Regions from separate parts of the Homo sapiens genome. Here region 1 is linked to region 2. The links are contacts of gene promoters, found by promoter capture Hi-C in human tissues and cell types (Jung and others, 2019). All regions are on one chromosome and are shown on one strand. Each heading gives the region's core, a stretch centred on a gene start or on the middle of the fragment in contact. The rest is flanking DNA. Distances are from core to core; before and after follow the strand shown. Region 1 has its middle 36 kb from the start of LINC01621. Region 2 holds the start of IRAK1BP1 (interleukin 1 receptor associated kinase 1 binding protein 1).

What was found. Contacts are between HindIII fragments. The study calls those that stand out against the background at their distance.
Region 1: a fragment that was not itself captured here is called in contact with the fragment with the promoter of IRAK1BP1 in region 2 in 1 of the 25 tissues and cell types used here (dorsolateral prefrontal cortex).

The regions. Positions count from the first base shown.
Region 1 is chr6:79,774,629-79,777,663 of GRCh38, reverse strand. No RefSeq gene overlaps it. Among named protein-coding and RNA genes, the nearest start is that of LINC01621, 36 kb to the left of the region's middle. The HindIII fragment of the contact is 4,720 bases long and covers 1-3,035 here.
Region 2 is chr6:78,866,119-78,869,387 of GRCh38, reverse strand. It overlaps IRAK1BP1 (interleukin 1 receptor associated kinase 1 binding protein 1), which reads right to left and starts at 1,837. Exons shown (of 4, transcript NM_001010844.4): 1 at 1,497-1,837. The coding sequence starts at 1,811. LOC107986613 (a long non-coding RNA gene) reads left to right here and starts at 1,898. Exons shown (of 2, transcript XR_001744210.2): 1 at 1,898-2,000. RefSeq lists enhancers at 1,050-1,650, 1,483-1,802, 1,833-1,942. The HindIII fragment of the contact is 12,955 bases long and covers 1-3,269 here.

The DNA of each region.
Region 1 (3,035 bases), core at 372-2,871, 910 kb before region 2:
TCGCCACTGTCCGTCTCCAGAACTTTTTTGTCTTCCCAAACTGCAATCCTGAACCCATGAAACACTAACTCCCCATTCCCTCCTGCCCTCAACCTCTTGCAACCACCGGGCCACTTACTGCCTCTCTGGCGAGTTCACTACCCATCAACCACAGCTTTGCTGAGAAGCCAGGATAGGGAAACATGTTCCCCCACTCCAATCTACATTTGTTTCTAAGTGGTGGTAGGCTTTTTAGGTCATCTTTATTTCTTCATGAAACTTCTCTGTGTTTTCTTTCTTTTTTCCAATAAAATTGCTATTTTTATTTTTAAAAACACGGATAACCTTTTGAAGAAAGAGATGGGTAGGTGTTTACTAAGCAGATGTCTGGGTGGGTGGGGAAGGGCATTCCAGGCAAAGGGAGCGGGAAGCACAGAGGGCTGGAGGGGGCATGAGGAGGGTGGCGTCTTGGTGGAGGGCAGCTTGGTCAACATGACTAGAGTTTGGGGATTACAATGAGGAAAGAGGAATCAAGATATCAGGCTGCCTGCAAAGTGGGCAGAAGTAAGATCTGAAAGGCTTTGTTTGCCACGTTAAGTAGTTGGCCTTTTTAGGCAATAGGAGAAAAAGGATTTTAAACAGAGGAGATACTTGAGCAAAGACTGCTTTAGAAATGAGACTCTAGTGTATGGATTGTAGTGAATGGATGGAGAGGGAGAAGGAGATGAGAGTGGATGCAAGTTAGGAGACTGCCACAATGGTCAAGGGGAGGAGTGCTGAGGGCCTGAGATAGGGAGGAGAGGCAGAGAGAGGTAAACAATTAAGAGAGGCATTAAGAAGGGGAACTGAGGGGACCAAGCAACTGCTAATCTATTAGGGAGTGAGAAGGAGAGGTATTTGGCTGGAGTGACTGAATGGATGGTGGTGTCAGGCACTGAGTTAGAGAATGGAAAAGCGAGAAGCAGATTTCGGGGAAAAGTCCATGAGTGCACTTTGGGACATGTTGAGTTCTGGGTTCCTGGGGGTCACCCAAGAGAAGAATCGTTAGGTACAGTGATTATATTTGCAGGTGGAGAGTTCATGAGAGATCTCTAGGCTAAAGATATAAATAAGGAGTCAAGAACATATGGATGGTGGCTGAAGCCATGAGAGTGAATGGGGCTACCAGGAAGAAAGCCCATGTGCACAGAGGAGAGAAGATACCTTAGGGCAAAGCTCTAGGGTATCTATTAAAGGTCTTTAGTTACAAGTAAAAGAAACCAGATGTAGTAACTGTAAGCACTGTATAAAGAATAACTTATTGGAAACCTGCTGCATAGGTCACAGTATAAACAGCTGAATACTCAGGCCGTGAGAGAACAGAGGAAGGGAGCTCCAGGGTCTCTGGGGAGAATTTGTGGCTTGCCATCTAGGCTGCTGCCATCAGCTGACCCACTTACAACTGCTCCCCACCCCCATGTGTCCGCACTCCAGACTTACATTCCTTGGAATGATCATCTGATTTTCCCTGCCTGTGTTAAATTTCCCAGCCTGAAGTGAGGGGATCAGGATCTTGTATCAATTCCCCACCAAAACCCCAGGAATTTTGAGTGAAACCAGGGAAGGCAACTGAGAAACAACATCTAGAGATGGAGAGGACCCAGGAGACAGCAGTAGTCTTGAAGCCTGGGAAGGAGTTTTAAGAAGGGAGGGATATGTTGTATCAGGTGCCACACACGGGGCCACATTTACCAAGATGAAGGGTAAAATAATAAATTAATTTGGCAACTAGGAAAGCATTGATAAGTTTTTCCCTAGCATATCTGGGGAGTACAAGGGATAGCTAATGGCAGTGGGTTGAAGAGTGAATGGAAAGAAAATAAATGGACTGAGTGTTAACCACTTTACCAGGGAGCCTGGTGGTCTCATGGGGGGAGAAAGATGGTAGCTACAAAGGCCTATATAGTAAGGACAAAGATTTGTTAGTGGCAGTGATGTGAACGTATTTCTAGCTTATAGGGAAGGAACCAATTGGAGGAAGATGTGGAAAGTGGAGGAAAACAGTCAAGAGAGGACTCCCGGCTTCAGTGAGGTGCCAGGGAGACACAGATCATAGGTTACTTTAAAGCAGACACATTTTCCTCTAAGATTGGACAGAGAGAGGTGAGGATGAGTACCTATATACAAGTATGTTGTCATCCCATTTTTTTTTTTAAGGTACCTGTCAGTGTGTGCCTGTACACAGAAACCACTGTATCAGAAACATGTCTGTATTTATTGTCACGTGACTAGATATGGTACAGGGCGTTTTAAGGCAGTTCATTTCTGAGCCTGACTCCCTCGGTTTTATTTCTCAAGTCAGACCCATAGTCATCTGCTGGCATTGTACAAGTGGCCAGGTGACAAGTAGTTTAGGGAAAAAATGTTCTATTTTAATGTCTATGTAGAAGCTATGTACTCTTTCATCATGACTGTGTCTCAGAGAAATGTATTCAGGCATTGTGTGACCTGCTAGTAAGATTAACAAAAACGTTAAGGGAAGTATAGCAGTCTAGGGAGTTGGCTATTATTAAGACAATATAGAAAAAATAAATGAAACTTTCAGAATAGACAGTCCAGGGAGTGATCATGGGAAAAGTTTGCCTAAGTAAGGAATGGAAGCTTTTGGGCCAAAGAAGGTCAAGAAAAGTTTAAGGCCAGGTTTTAGGAGATTGTCTAGGGCAGGGTATCATAGATGCCCACAGGGTTCAAGCAGATTCTACAAACGCAGGAGGCAGCTGTGCCTTGTCTTCCACAGCACATTGTGGAGACCACACAGAAAGGACTAGCATCAAATGTTTATGACCCAGAGACAGTATGGGCTTAGTGTGGCCAGAGCTTCCAGGTTTTCAAAAAAGCCAGATATCTGTATTTTATGCAAAAATCTCTTAATTTTTTAACAAATTGTAGGTTCATTTTTAAAAATTATTTTTAAATGCTTTTTAAAAAATCATTCTACAGGCCAAACTAACAACTAGTGTACAGGATTTTTCTCTTGAACCACCCATTTCCAACCTTGATTCTATATAGCTGTTCCT
Region 2 (3,269 bases), core at 588-3,087:
CCACCATGCCCACCTAATTTTTGTATTTTTACTAGAGATTGGGTTTTGCCATGTTGGCCAGGCTGGTCTCGAACTCCTGGCCTCAAGTGATCCACCTGCCTTGGCCTCCCAAAGTGTTGGCATTACAGGCATGAGCCACCATGCCCAGCTTATGTTGTTTTATATATTAGAGACCTGTGAGCTCTTTTTATTTTATGTAAATAACTTAAAAACTTGTTAACATTATTCAAACGACTACAGCACTAGTAGCAGTTTTTTAAAACTATTTTTCTACATATTAAACCCACTTTACTCACATTATTTATAATTATCTGTATTTTTCTAAATTGTAAAATCATTTGAAGAAATCTTGTCCAAATGACTTTGTAATAACTTGTATGTTTGTATTATAAATGCAATTCAAATATCTTTTCTTGTTAAAAATAAGGACTTGCTTTTTCGGGGTATGGAATTTCTTGCAATAGACTGGAAGTAACAATGCCTGCACTTTTACCAACTCAATGTCATCCTGGATAAGTTACATCTCTGGCCTTTGGGGTCCTACTCTATAAAATGAGAAAACTGAAATCGTTGATCCCTATGATTTCTAATTTTCTTTCATTCTAATTATCGGCAGAATTGGAAGCAACTTACATTCTGGTTTCAGGAATACATGAGTTCAAATATTGCTCTACCTAAAGTTCAGAGCATTGTTTAACCTCTTTAAATTTGGAAAACAGGGATATTAAAACATGCCTAACAGTGCTATTGTGTGGATTAAATGATGGCTTCATTTTTTTTCTTGCCTTAGGAGTAGGCTTAAGGTAAGATTTGTTTAGTGATTTGTCTCATGGACATCTCCGTTAAGTAAGTAGAAGTATTTCGTATATGTGGTATCCACAATACTGGCTTGATTTTTTCTTTTAAGTTAAACCTAAGAAGGCCGAAGAAATTTTGGGGGAATCACTATAAAATGAAAATCATTATAAAATGAAAATGGACGCAACTTCTTCCCCACTTCCCAACGTTACTGTTTGCGGAACATACTCAAGAACCATTCCATGCAAAGTTTTACATGATCGGAAGGAAGCAGGTCGTGCTCTTCACTTGCCAATTCCATGGTGCGGAATAAAAACAAAACAAAACAAAATATTTAGTGTCCAGCACTCCACGTGGGCAAGTATTTACAACTAACATTTCAAGTTTTAACATTTCATCACTTTAAATTTAAAAACAAAATCACTGAAGCAAATATCCCCAGATAAAAACCTACCCAATTTGCATTCTTTTATTTTTAATTTGCCTGAGGCCAATAATTACCTTCGTCTAGGAGAAGAATGGGTCAAATATTCACTCTGCCAGGTCCTGGCGTCCCGGAGTACCTTTGCAACAAACGCGTCCTAAACGCTCCAGACCCTCCACATCTCCCTTCCCGCTAGGGGGGCCTGTGGGGCCCGACCATCTGCCAACCCTTTTGTGTCTTCCGGCTCTTATTTCCTCCCCCGCGGAGATCTCACCTGCACGCCCTGCTGCTGGAGGCTCTGCGTGATGTAATCTAGACGGCGACAAACGCTCTTTTTGGCCTCGGCTGCCGCCTCCTTGGTGCTGCTCACTCGCACCACCACCTGCGCCCGGTCAGGGCCCGCAGACACTTCTGAGGTGCCGCTTACTTGCACCTCGCGGGTAGCAGTTTGGGCTTGTGTTGAGGAGAGGGGGTGGCGTAAGCCCGGTAGCGTCTCTCTCCCTGAGGCCAGGTTGTTCTCCCGGCTCCGGTCAGCCCAGGGAACCAGTTCCACGAACACTCGGGTCGGAGGGGTCTTTTGCAGAGACATAGCGATGGCAGCTGGGTTTCCATAGTAACTACCGGCCGACGGCGGCCGAAGGGGCCAATGCGCACCAGGGCTTGCCTGTGCACGGCGCAAAGTATGCCGGGATGGGTGTGGAGGCCGCGGAACTTCTGGCGGGCGCAAGCTATATGCCTTGTTGATCTTGCCGCATCTTTTTTACTAGATGTCGGCTGAGTGAGTAGCTACAGTTTTTAACATGTTTAACTTACGGCCTTCAAAAATTGTTAGCGGACTTTCTCTGTTGCCTCCTCAGTGAGCTCTGCCCTTTCTCGCAACTCCTTGTCGTCCCACCGCGCCTCTGCACCTCAGAGGAAGGAGAAGAGTAGCGAGGCCGAGCGGGTTTTTAGATTTCTCTGTGATTACCCCCAGCCTTGTCTTTTCTGACTTTACCGTCCCCGCTTGGGGTACTGCTTTTTGAGGCTCCCTCGGCCACATTTTTGTGGTTCGTGAGAGGTTTCAGTTGAGGTGAACTTTTTGCCCCTGTGATCTTGGACAGTTTATGATTCTTCATATCTCAGTATCATCTTCTCTAAAGCAGGGTTGATAATATTTTTTATATTAGTAATATATAATATATTCTAATATATATAATATATTCTAATATATAATATATTCTAATATATATAATATATTAATATTATCAAAGCAATGTTGATAATATTTTTCACATTTGCTATGTGCTTATAAGGCGCCCATTGTATGTAGAGTGCGTTGCATATGGAAAGCAGAGTGAACATAATGGATGTTTGTAATGATAGCTATGGCTTTGGCATCATTTTTGTGTCTCCCCATTTTTTTCTAAAATCCCTGGAATGGTTCGGGCCTTGAATTCCGACAGAAGAGATTTAGGTGGTAGCAAAGCACGTCCAACATGGAGTTTGCTGGGCCTGCACAACTTGGAGCTTCTCTGTACCCTTTTCTTCAGAGAACTTTTAGAACACAACCCTCAACTTCCCGTCTTCTGGATTCTCTTCCTAGCACTAAGCAATGATCTTTGTAAAAATAGCCCCACTGACTTATACGTCTTTACTATCTGAATTTTATCAAGAGAATCGAGGGGGGAAAAAAGAATTTTGAATAACTAGTTCTAGAAGGACAAGAACTGTTCTTTTAAAAGGACCCTGAAAAGCTGACAGTCCTCTTGTAGTTTCTTCACCATCGTTTTTTCTGTTCTTTTCGATTAGTATAATTCAACTAAATCAATGGTACCCCCCTCCTTTAATTAGGCTCATCACTAGATTAACATAATTTTGTGTATATCCATCTTGTTTATTGTTAGCTGAAAACAATTTTAATTTAAAAACTAACGTTAAGAACTTTCCGTCATAGTCTTTTATTATTTAAGACACCCAAAATAATGTTTCTTAAACTTGGTGAAAAATTCTTTTTCCCTTACGATAAATGCGGAAGAATATAGCCTCCAAAATAAATTATTGAATGAGT